Regions from separate parts of the Homo sapiens genome. Here region 2 is linked to region 1. The links are contacts of gene promoters, found by promoter capture Hi-C in blood cells and fetal thymus (Javierre and others, 2016). All regions are on one chromosome and are shown on one strand. Each heading gives the region's core, a stretch centred on a gene start or on the middle of the fragment in contact. The rest is flanking DNA. Distances are from core to core; before and after follow the strand shown. Region 1 holds the start of TOP2A (DNA topoisomerase II alpha). Region 2 overlaps WIPF2 (WAS/WASL interacting protein family member 2).

Region 1 (5,760 bases), core at 1,529-4,028:
GCTGGGATTACAGGCACCCGCCATCAGGCATGGCTAATTTTTTTTTTTGTATTTTTGTAGAGATGGGGTTTCACCAAGTTGTCCAGGCTGGTCTCAAACCCCTGAACTCAGGTGATCCACCCACCTCAGCCTCCCAAAGTGCTGGGATTACAGGCGTGAGCCACCACACCCGGTCCCCAAAGTCCTTTTGACTCCACAGTACTTCTTCTGGGTTTTTGGAACAAAGACACACAGGATCCAGCTAAACTGCAGGACAGATTTAAAGCTGGGCCCCTAAAAAATAGGGCTGGAGCTGCTTGTTAAATTCCTGTTGCCTCATTGCCCAGTGGGTCACTGCAGGCTGGGATGAGCTACAGGGTAGAGGCCGGGAGCTGCAGAAACTGAGCTGCCATCCTTGGGGAAGCATGCCCACCATCCCCACTACCTTGGAGGTAGTGCGTTCTAGGAGGTAGAAGCCAGCATGGCTGGTTTCTGTCAGGGCCCTCGGGTGTCCTGCAGAGAGTGGCATGCAGGCCCTGGATCCCAGGGCCTGGTCAGTCTTCTGGCTGAGCAGAGGCTACTGGCCAAGCTTCCCTACCACTGCTCTGAGCCCCTGGTGGTCCTGTGCTCTCTAACACATGTGGTGAGCAGAGCAGAGCTGGGAACACGCAGAGACTGCTGGAGGCCAGGGAGCCAAAGGTCAAGAGAGCAGAACAATGCCGAAGCACCATGCCTATGGTTTCCGAGTGCCCCTAGCCCATGGGCAACTTCCATCCTTGGCTTCCTGCCACATCATACGGCTCCCCATTGGCCCTCCCTTGACACACTGTGGTTATGTAACAATGGTTGACCTCTGGTTTCTTTTAGAAGAAGAAAAAAAAAATTACATCCACAATTGTCACACCAGCCTAAGGAAAATTCCTGCTACCTAATACTGTCAGCCCACTGTTTACCTTACACTTCTCTCATGTAACCCTCACACTACTCTGAGATCATAGTTAATTATTCTTTTTAGGAGAGGAAACGGAAGCACCGAGAGGCTTCCTCCATCGAAATGACACGAATGGCAAATTGCTGAGTTGGGACTGAAACCCAGGTAGAGGAAGGAAGCAATGAATGGAAAGAGGTGGCTCAGCTGGAATTAGTAGGCACTCAAATTGTGCAGTTTTTTTTTTTCTGGCTTCTTGTAAGGGTAATAACTTTGTTTAATCCACTCAAACATTTATATGTAAGAGTAATTTTAAAACTTCAGTCTTCGCCGGGCACAGTGACTCACACCTGTAATCCCAGCACTTTGAGAGGCTGAGGCGGGCAGATCACTTGAGGTCAGAAGTTTGAAACCAACCTGGTCAACATGGCAAAACCCTGTCTCTACTAAAAAAATACAAAAATTAGCCAGGCGTGGTGGCAGGCGCCTGTAATTCTAGCTACACGGGAGGCTGAGGCAGGAGAATCGCTTGAACCCGCGAGGTGAAGGTTGCAGTGAGCCTAGATCGCGCCATTGCACTCCAGCCTGGGCGACAGAGTGAGATTCCATCTCAAAAAAAAAAAAAGCAACAAAAAAACAAGCAAACAAAAAAGCTTCAGTCTTGGCATTTCCTTGTCAAATTGGAACAGCTGTTCTGGACTGCAGGGTTCACGGAGGTGAGCAAAAGTAGCCAGTCGGAGGGTATCTGGCCAGCTGGCTGCGGAAAAGGTTTCAGCCCCGGACGGCTGAGCCCACCCTCAGCTCAAGAGGCTACCACCACAAGTTATCCCTTTCGATTTACCAGTTGCAGTCCAGCGCTGCTCTACTGGGGACCTGAATGCTGCCCTCCATTTTGCAAAGCCTTTCTACATCCTTCCACTATATGGAACCCCCAAACCACAACTGTGGCACTTTTATTTTAATTATTTTTATTATTTATTTATTTATGTATTTATCTCTTGAGGTGGCCTCGCTCTGTCACTCAGGCTGGAGTGCAGTGGAGCAATCACGGTTCAAGGCGCCTCGATCTCCGATCCCCGGGGCTCAAGCGATCCTCCCTCCTCAGCCTCCGGAGCTGGAGTTACAGGTGTGCGATGCCTCGCCTGGCTATTTTTTTTCCTTTTTGGGTAGAGACGGGGTCTCGCTATGTTGCCCAGGCTGGTCTCCAACTCCTAGGCTCCAGCGATCCTCCCGCCTCGGCCTCCCAATGTGCTGCGAATACAGACTCCAGCCACCGCACACAGCCTACTTTTATTTCTTTGAAAAATGAATTCGAGGGTAAAGGGGGCGGGGTTGAGGCAGATGCCAGAATCTGTTCGCTTCAACCAAGCAGCCAGGCTGCCTGTCCAGAAAGCCGGCACTCAGTTTCCTCAGGAAAACGAAGCTAAGGCTCCCATTCCCCTCGCTAACAACGTCAGAACAGAGGACAGTTTTTAGATTTCAGGGATCTTAAATAGATTGGCAGTTCCTGGAGAATAAACATCCTTTGCTTTTCTCCTGCACACTTTTGCCTCAGGCCACCCCTTCCCGCTTCCAAAGCCCATCTCTTCCAAGCTTTCCGCACGAGAAAACAAGTGAGCCCTTCTCATTGGCCAGATTCCCTGTCAATCTCTCCGCTATGACGCCGAGTGGTGCCTTTTGAAGCCTCTCTAGTCCCGCCTCCCTAACCTGATTGGTTTATTCAAACAAACCCCGGCCAACTCAGCCGTTCATAGGTGGATATAAAAGGCAAGCTACGATTGGTTCTTCTGGACGGAGACGGTGAGAGCGAGTCAGGGATTGGCTGGTCTGCTTCGGGCGGGCTAAAGGAAGGTTCAAGTGGAGCTCTCCTAACCGACGCGCGTCTGTGGAGAAGCGGCTTGGTCGGGGGTGGTCTCGTGGGGTCCTGCCTGTTTAGTCGCTTTCAGGGTTCTTGAGCCCCTTCACGACCGTCACCATGGAAGTGTCACCATTGCAGGTACGGCTCGCGGGGGGGACTGGCGGTGGAGCCTCCGCGCGGCCCGGGCATCTCTCTGGCCGCCCGTGACGGGTGAAGCTCTGGGGCTGCGGTCAGGCCGGCGACCGGCTTGGGAGCCCATATTCTCCATTCCCGGTTCCGGGGTGATCGTGGAGAGGCGGAAGCCCCTTCTGGTGCTAGTAGTGAAGTATGACCCGGCTTCCAGGGTGTCGTGCGTTGTTGCCCTGTTTCTAGGGGCAGGAGTCCGTTGGTCCCGTAGTGGATCCATGTTACAGCGGCCCGGGTGCGACGTTATTGAGTCGCGCGTACAGATGCTTTCCCCTCCTGCCCGCTGCTTGAAAACGGTCTTGAATGTCCCCGATCTTGGAAAGGGCAGAGCCTAGCACAGTGTTTCTCTGGAGCAGCTGGCCAGCTTACAAAAGCGCCCCCTTCCTGAGTTCACAACGCTCAGGTGGCCAAGGGATTGAACGGATAGCCGCCCAAACTGCTGCTGCCGAACTAGAATTATTTACGGTGTCGTGTGCTCGGGACACCGTAAATAATTTATAATAATAGGCACTCGGTAAATAATGTATGCAGGAACTGAAAGAAGTGGGTGTATTTTATTGATGACATCTACCATGTTGCTCAAGAAAAGAGGTTTCCAGACAGACCCACTTGGTGAGATAATATGTGTCTGTTTAACCTGACACCTGGGGACCTGGCCGCAGCGAATTTAAATTGTCCTATTTGTACAAAACTGGCAACTCCACCACTGCCTACTAACAGATTGCAATGCATGTTGACATCTCACTATGGTAGGCATTTTGTTCCTAGTTTAGGGTAAACTTATGATTAAAAATTCCCTTCTTTCTCTCTTTTTTTTTAATTGCTAGCCTGTAAATGAAAATATGCAAGTCAACAAAATAAAGAAAAATGAAGATGCTAAGAAAAGACTGTCTGTTGAAAGAATCTATCAAAAGAAAACACAATTGGAACATATTTTGCTCCGCCCAGACACCTACATTGGTTCTGTGGAATTAGTGACCCAGGTAAAATCAAGCTCATCAAAGGCAGTTAACCTAGTAGTTGAAATGGATACTCTTCTTTCTGTACCTTTCATGTACTGAGTGTGACCTTTCTGTATCTCTCATGTACTGAGTGTCACTGGAACTGGCCTAAATATGGTAATACTTAATATGAACACTTTATGGTAATCATGATAACAGAACAATGAATATAGAATAAAAATAACAGTATTTCTTTGCCTTATTTCTAGCAAATGTGGGTTTACGATGAAGATGTTGGCATTAACTATAGGGAAGTCACTTTTGTTCCTGGTTTGTACAAAATCTTTGATGAGATTCTAGGTGAGTAAATCCTTTAATATAAAGATCTGGTCAAATCTTTCATAAGAAGTATCATTCCAAATAAAAATTTAAAAAAGATAAAAGTAAAAACAAAAAGTATCATTTCTACCAAACCTGCTGTAGCCAGGGCTCCTGTCATTTCAATCAGTTGATAAAGGTGAGCTGGTTTCCTGGAGCCCAGGAGGTTGAGCTTCTCGTAGAAACAGTACTATGGACAAAAATTGCTAAATTAACACCTTGTTAATGCCACTCCTGTGCTGTTTGGGAACTTTTTTTTCTATATCTTACTTAGAGTTACAGAATGTTTCTTAAAACACTAATTTCTTACAAATGTATATTTTATTTTCTTTCAGTTAATGCTGCGGACAACAAACAAAGGGACCCAAAAATGTCTTGTATTAGAGTCACAATTGATCCGTACGTCTTTTGCTTAGTTTTTGTTATGTAGCTCGTTGCTATTGTTAGCTGCATGTATTTTGATTACTGGTGAAGTTGGCTTTTCCTAAACAGAAGTTGAGAAAAGTACACAAAAGCAGAATGCTAAAATGAAAAACCTATGGATACCCACCACCTAGATCCAACAGTTGCCAACGTTTTTCCATATTTTCTCCATCTTTTTTTTAATTAGTTAATTTTTTTAGAGGAAGGGGTCTTGCTATTTTGCCTGGGCTGGTCTTAGAACTCCTGGCCTGAAGCAATCCTCCAGTGTTGGCATTATGGGTGTGTGCCATGGCACGCGGCCTATTTGCTCTGGATCATTTCAAAATAAATTACAGGACTTATGACACCTAATCCCTAAATATTTGAGCAAGCACCTTCAGTAATTGCTTTAAGTATTCTGGCATCTGGAGTTTTAACTTTTTCTCATGATGCTATTCAAACAGTAAACCAGTAGGTGGTGGTAGAGAATAATTTGATCTGACATTTCTGCTTATAAATGCGGGGTGTCCCTTAGTGGGTGATCAGGGTGCTTATTTCACTTTTTTGTTAGTCTGATTGATTATGACAAAGTATACCTGGATTTTCCTAAGGACTCAATATCATAGTCTTTAAAAAATGTTGAGCTAGGGCCAGGCACGGTGGCTCATGCCTGTGATCCCAGCACTTTGGGAGGCCGATGCGGGCGGATCACAAGGTCAGGAGATCAAGACCATCCTGGCTAACACGGTGAAACCCTGTCTCCACTAAAAATACAAAAAATTAGCCGGGTGTAGTGGTGGGCGCCTGTAGTCCCAGCTACTCGAGAGGCTGAGGCAGGAGAATGGCATGAACCCGGGAGGTGGAGCTTGCAGTGAGCCGAGATTGCACCACTGCACTCCAGCCTGGGTGACACAGCAAGACTCTGTCTCAAAAAAAAAAAAAAAGTTGAGCTAATTTTAATTAGTTTTTTTTATAGATAATAAGTACTATGTAGAACAAGAACCATAATGTATATCGAGTTATTAACTAAAATATAGTACCATCCAAGAATTAACTTAAAATAACTGAAATAAGTTTTCAGCATTTTA
Region 2 (6,431 bases), core at 116-2,615, 150 kb after region 1:
AGATAGAGACCATCCTGGCTAACATGGTGAAACCCCATCTCTACTAAAGATACAAAAAAATTAGTCGGGTATGGTAGCGGGTGCCTGCAGTCCCAGCTACTCGGGAGGCTGAGGCAGGAGAATGGCGTGAACCTGGGAGGTGGAGCTTGCAGTGAGCCGAGATCGCGCCACTGCACTCCAGCCTGGGCGACAGAGCAAGACTCCATCTCAAAAAAAAAAAAAAAAAAAAAAGACAGTGTTTTACTCTGCAAAGAAAAAATTCTTGAAACAAACTCTATGAACCAATAATGCTAGTTTTTGGGTTTTGGGGGGGCGGGTTTTGAGGCAGGGTCTTGCTCTGCTGCCTAGGCTGGAGTGCAGTGGCGTGATCTCAGCTCTCTGCAGCCTCTGCCTCCTGGGCTCAAGTGATCCTCCCATCCTAGCCTCCCAAGTAGCTGGGACCACAGGCACACGCTACCACGCCTGGCTAGGTTTCTTAAATTTATTTTTATTTATTTATTTATTTATTTTTTGAGACAGAGTCTCGCTCAGTCACCCATGCTGGAGTGCAGTGGTGCAATCTTAGCTCACTGCAACCACAATCTCCCGGGTTCAAGCGATTCTCCCGTCTCAGCCTCTCGAGTAGCTGGGATTACAGGCACCCGCCATCATGCCTGGCTAATTTTTGTATTTTAGTAGAGAGATGGGGTTTCACCATGTTGGCCAGGCTGGTCTTGAACTCCTGACCTCAGGTGATCTGCCTGTCTCAGCCTCCCAAATTGCTAGGATTACAGGCGTGAGCCACTGCACCCGGCCTAGTTTTTTTATTTTTTGTAGTAATGGGGTTTCACCATGTTGCCCAGGCTGGTCTTGAACTCCGTCTCAAGCGATCCTCCTGCCTCAGCCTCCCAAAGCACTAGGATTACAAGTGTGAGCCTGTGTCCCTGACCCCCACTGTACTTTTCAAATGTACATTTTACAGGTGAGAAAAGAGAATCGGTGAGAAAAGAGAATCAGTGATCTGTCCAATGTCACACAACAAATCGAGGCAATACTCAAATGATCTCTGACTAAAATATCTCAATTTTTTTCTGGTTTATCACTCTTAAGAATTGCTGCTCTAGCCAGGTACAATTGCTCACATCTGTAATCCCAGGGCTTCGGGAGGCCAAGGTGGGAGGATGGCTTGAGCCCAAGAGTTTGAGTCCAGCCTGGGCAACACAGACCTCATCTTAAAAAATAAAAATAAAAAAAAATTTTAATGAGCCAGACATGGTGGCAACACTCCTGTAGTCCTAGCTACCACAGAGAAAGAATGGAAAAGTGGGAAGCAAGAAAGCCTGCAGACATTTAAAAGTGCTCAGCTCAACCCACGGAAATTGCATTTTTCTCTTCTTCTATTCCTGGATGAGGTCAGAAAGATATGAGCTTTGCTCAGACAAAGAGTCTTTTGTAAAATCCCTAAGTTAAAAAAAAAGTCAAACCTGAACTTTATAGAATCAAGGGCCACCTTAGCACTACCTCATTATGGCTAAAGCTAGGGAGATATGGGATCAGGAATGCAGTAGGCCACTGTTTGGCTGCCCTATGTTAGATGGCCAGCTGCTAGAGTACAAATCTGTATGTACTGAACAAAGAAGCTGCACACAGGTTAATGGACTTTTAATGCCTTGCTACTTAATGATATAACCTTTACCCTTTTTTTGGGACAACGTCTTGCTGTGTTGCCCAGGCTGAAGTGCAGTGGCACTAATACAGCTCACTGCAGCCTCCACCTCCCAGGCTCAAGTGGTCTTCCCACCTCAGCCACTCAAGTAGCTGGGACTACAGGCATGCACCGCCATGCCAGGCTAATTTTTTAAAATTATTTTTTGTAGAGACAGGGTTTTGCCATGTTGCCCAGGCTGGTCTCGAACTCCTGGGCTTAAATGATCTGCTGGCCTCAACCTTCCAAAGTGCTGGGATTAAGGCGTGAGCCATCATGCCCAGACTCCATGACATAACTCCTTAATCAATGTTCTATACCTGTAGAAACTGACTTTAAAATAAAAGCTAAGGGCTGGGCGCAGTGGCTCACTTGAGGTCAGGAGTTTGAGACCAGCCTGGCCAACACGGCGAAAACCCGTTTCTACTAAAAATACAAAAATTAGCCAGATATGGTGGCACATGCCTGTAATTCCAGCTAGTCAGGAGGCTGAGACACAACAATCACTTGAACCTGGGAGGAAGAGGTTGCAATGAGCAGAGATTGCACCACTGCACTCCAGCCTGGGCGAAAGAGCAAGGCTCTGTCTCAAAACACAAACAAACAAATAAATAAATAAAGGCCAAGAAGCTGTTTGTGGAGGGTATGTCTCAAAGTCTAATGATACAACGATATGGGAGCCAAAATTCCCATGTCCAATAAGGCCCCAGAGAGCTGTCACGGTCTCCCTCACTCTAAAATTTCAGTTATGCTAATTATAACGAGATTACACAACCTCTTCTTTTTCCAGGGTTCCTAAATTCCCTCCTCACCCAGCTTAGGCTCCATTATTGCAATCACTCCCTCACATACACCCTTCCCTTCCTGCCCCACTCTCCCTTAGAGTCGCACATGCCTAAAACATGCTAACGCTGGTTAAACACAGCTCTACTCTTTTTCTGTACCTGCAAATCACAACTGAACACATGAGACTAATTAATCTCACATGAAATGTATGGCCCATAATCTCAAGTGGGCCCTTCGCGTGGTTGCCTATCTGAGCACACTTCCCTAGTCCACCCACACTCCCACGCTCCAGATGACCATTTCATGCCTCTTCTCTCTCCTCAACTCTCCTTCTCCTTCCCTCGCCTCAATCACAGCTGATGCTCTTGCTTTCCATTTCACTGAGAAAACAGAAGCAAATTAGAATAAACTTTCCACATGCTTCTACCACTACACCCACCTACCCACTTGCTTCTAAGCCTATATGCTCTGCCTCCCCTCTTGTTACTATGGAAGAACTATGTTCCTATCTAAGGCCAACCCTTTTTATCTATCGATCACATTCTCTTTTCTCTGGCCTCCTCCAGGTCATTATTCAGGCAATCTGTTCCCTCTCTTCTGATTCAATTTTTTCCCTCTCTCCTAAGTTTCATGCTACTCATTCCATCAGCATACAAATAGGTCTCCCATCTTGGGATGGGAAAAAAACAACTCTCAACCCCACATCTTCGTCCAACAATCACTTCACTTATCTTCACCCCTCTCTCCTGGACTTTACAGCGAACTCTTTAAGAGATTTCTATATTGCTATCTCCAATTTCTCTCCTCCTATTCCTGCATTCTTGAACCCACTCCAATTAAGCTTTCACTTTCACCCTCCACCACTCCACTGAAACTACTCAAAAGGGTCCCATGATACTAAGACCAATGCCAGTTCTTGGTCTTTAACTTACCTGACCCATCTGCAGCACTGGGCACAGCTGACCACTTACTCTACCTTGGAGTTTTTCCATCACATTCTTGGTTTTTCTCCTTCCATCCTCACTAGAAGCTTTTCTGTTTCCTCTGCTGGGTATTCTTCATCTCTTTTGCCTCTAATGTAGGAGGGCGAGGGCTCAGCCCTCATTTTTTTTTTTTTTTTTTTTGAGATGGACTGTCACTCTGTCGCCCAGGCTGGAGTGCAGTGGCGTGATCTCGGCTCACTGCAACCTCTGCCTCCTGAGTTCAAGCGATTCTCCTGCCTCAGCCTCCTAGGCCTCTTCTTATCTATATTCACTCCTTAGGTGACTTCATCCAGCATGTGGTTTTCAACACCATTCAAATGTATCTCTCTAGCCGAAACCTCTCCCCTCAACTTTGGAGTCTGATAGCCAATTACCAATTCATTGTCTCTTCTTGATTACCTAACAGGCATCTCAAACTTGTCTCAAACTGAACACCTATCTTCCCACAAATTCACAGTAGTCCTAACCATCTGGCCGTTTACTGCAACAGCCCAGTAACTGGTCTCCTTTTGTCACCTTTGTCCTCCTGCGGTCTGTTCTCAACATAGGAGTTAATGATCTTTTTAAAAGGTGAATCAAATCATACTACTTCTCTGTTTAAAACCCTCCAGTGGCTTCCCATCTCACACAGTTAAATCCAAGGTCTTTGCAAAATCCTGCAGTGCGCTCTCCCCTGCAGCTCCAGCTTTCCAACCTCCAAGTCCTACCACTCTTCCCTCCCCTCACTCTTTGTAGTCTTGCCACAATGGCCCCCTTGCTGTCCCCAAAATGTTTCAAGAATACTTCTGCCTTATGGCCTCTGCATTTGTTGTTCCCACTGCCTGCAACAGCTGTTCTCCTAGATAACTACTAAGCTTACTCGTCACTTTCTTAAGGTCTTTGTCAAATTTTCACCGTATCAGTAAGGACTGTCCTGACTCTCTCCCCACTCCTCCAATTAAAGATATCATCATCCCGACCTCCGCCCCAGTATATCTTATTCCTCTCCTCTGCTTTGTAATTCTCTAAAGCATACTGCATACTATGTATTTATATATTTTACTAGTTTGACTGTCAAATTTTTTTGTCTTTTCTATTTATTGCTATTTCCCTACCAACAGACCTGACACATAAAAAGGTACTCAATAAACCCACTGAGTGAATAAACGAATTACTGTCTTCAAGGAGTGCTCTGGGGAAAGATAAAATCAACTCACAGCATGATAGGGAAAAAGGTGCTTCCAAGCACTTACCTGCTCCCCGACTGGGAGGGTCTCGGGCTGGGGGAGGTGGCCTATTACTCAGTAAAGATGGGGAGGCCGAGGTGGGTGGAGGAGGTGCTAGGCCTCTGACAGGCCCTGGTGTCTTCCTATGCAAAGAATTGTGTCTCTGTGGCAGCTCAGGGGCTGACTCATTAGTGGGGCTAGAGGGTCCATTGGGGACCCCAGGAGGCTGGCGGTAAGGCGGAGGAGGAGGAGCCAGAGACTGGCCACTTGGTCCTGTTCTGATATTCACAGGGGAAGGAGGTGGTTTGACTGGGGGTGGAGCAGGAGGTCCCTCTCGACCAGGGTGAAGCCTTTGTCCAGGCGTCGGTGGCAAGGGTTTCTCTCTGTTGTAGGCGGGGGCTTTGCTGCTGTGCATAGGCAGAGGTGTGGGGGGTGCGTTGGCACGCCGCCCTGGGGGTGGTGGGGGAGGGGCAGAGGAGCTGTGCTTCATGCCCGTACTGCTGGTGGTATTAGGCCGAGAGAGGTCCGGTAAAGAGGGTCTCTGCATCCGGGGCAGTTCTGGGAGTGAGGCCCGGCTGCTGTCTGTATCATCCTGAGGACGCCCGCTGGCGGCAGATACTGGAGGCCTTGGGGCAGCAGCTCGAGAACTGGGGATTTGCAGGGCTGGCTTACCAGCTAGGTTCTCTACAAATACATAGACAACACAGGGTCAACAGAGCTGGACAGATATTGGTCAGTATCCCTACTTCACTCGGCTCCTTAGTGCAACCTGCATGGCAGCAGGGAAAGGAATTGAATAATTCTGGGTTTTTTGTTTTTCTTTTTTTTTTTTTTTTTTTTTTTTTTTGAGACGAAGTTTCGCTGTTGTTGCCTAGGCTGGAGTGCAATGGTGCAATCTCAGCTCACTGCAACCTCTGGGTTCAAGTGATTCTCCTGCCTCAGCCTCCCGAGTAGCTGGGATTACAGGTGTGCGCCACCACACCTGGCTGATTTTTGTATTTTTAGTAGAGATGGGGTTTCACCACGTTGGACAGGCTGGTCTCGAAATCCCAACCTCAGGTGATCTGCCCACCTCGGCTTCCCAAAGTGATGGGATTACAGGCGTGAGCCACCACGTCCGGCCTAGTTCTGGGTTTTAATACGGTTTCAGGCTCAGGATACACTGTTATTTATTTTAAATGTTACTTTATTTTTGACAAGTAATAATTTTATGTATTTATGGGGTACAATGTCTCGTTATATGTATACGTTGTGGAATGATTAAATCAAACTAACATATCCATCACCTCACATATTTTTTTTAATGGTGAAAACACTTAAAATCTACTCTACAACAGGCGCAGTGGCTCATGCCTGTAATCCCAGCACTTTGGGAGGCCAAGGTGGACAGATCACTTGAGGTCAGAAGTTTGAGACCAGCCTGGCCAACATGGTGAAACCCCGTCTCTACTAAAACTACAAAAATTAGCCAGGTGTGGTGGCCTGTGCCTGTAATCCCAGCTACTTGGGAGGCTGAGGCAGGAGAATGGCTTGAACCCAGGAGGCGGAAGTTGCAGTGAGCCAAGATGGCACCACTGCACTCCAGCCTGGGCGACAGAGCAAGACTCCATTTGCGGGGGGGGGGGGGACGAATAAATAAAATAAAATAAAATAAAATATACTCTTTTAGCAATTTTGAAATATACATTAAGTATAATAAGGGGTCGCCAACCCCTGGGGCCATGCACCTGTACAGGTCAGTGGCCTGTTAGGAACAGGGCACACAGAAGGTGA

What was found. The method cuts DNA at HindIII sites, captures the fragments that hold promoters and counts their contacts. A CHiCAGO score of 5 or more calls a contact.
Region 2: a contact is called between a fragment that was not itself captured here and the fragment with the promoter of TOP2A in region 1, in 1 of 17 cell types (neutrophils). The highest score is 5.3, in neutrophils.

The regions. Positions count from the first base shown.
Region 1 is chr17:40,414,914-40,420,673 of GRCh38, reverse strand. TOP2A (DNA topoisomerase II alpha) reads left to right here and starts at 2,778. Exons shown (of 35, transcript NM_001067.4): 1 at 2,778-2,903; 2 at 3,779-3,934; 3 at 4,162-4,252; 4 at 4,606-4,669. The coding sequence starts at 2,883. RefSeq lists enhancers at 572-1,114, 2,783-2,872, 2,594-3,119. The HindIII fragment of the contact is 7,280 bases long and covers 2,503-5,760 here.
Region 2 is chr17:40,263,401-40,269,831 of GRCh38, reverse strand. WIPF2 (WAS/WASL interacting protein family member 2) reads right to left here. Exons shown (of 8, transcript NM_133264.5): 5 at 4,686-5,342. Among named protein-coding and RNA genes, the nearest start is that of CDC6, 21 kb to the left of the region's middle. The HindIII fragment of the contact is 3,897 bases long and covers 1-3,313 here.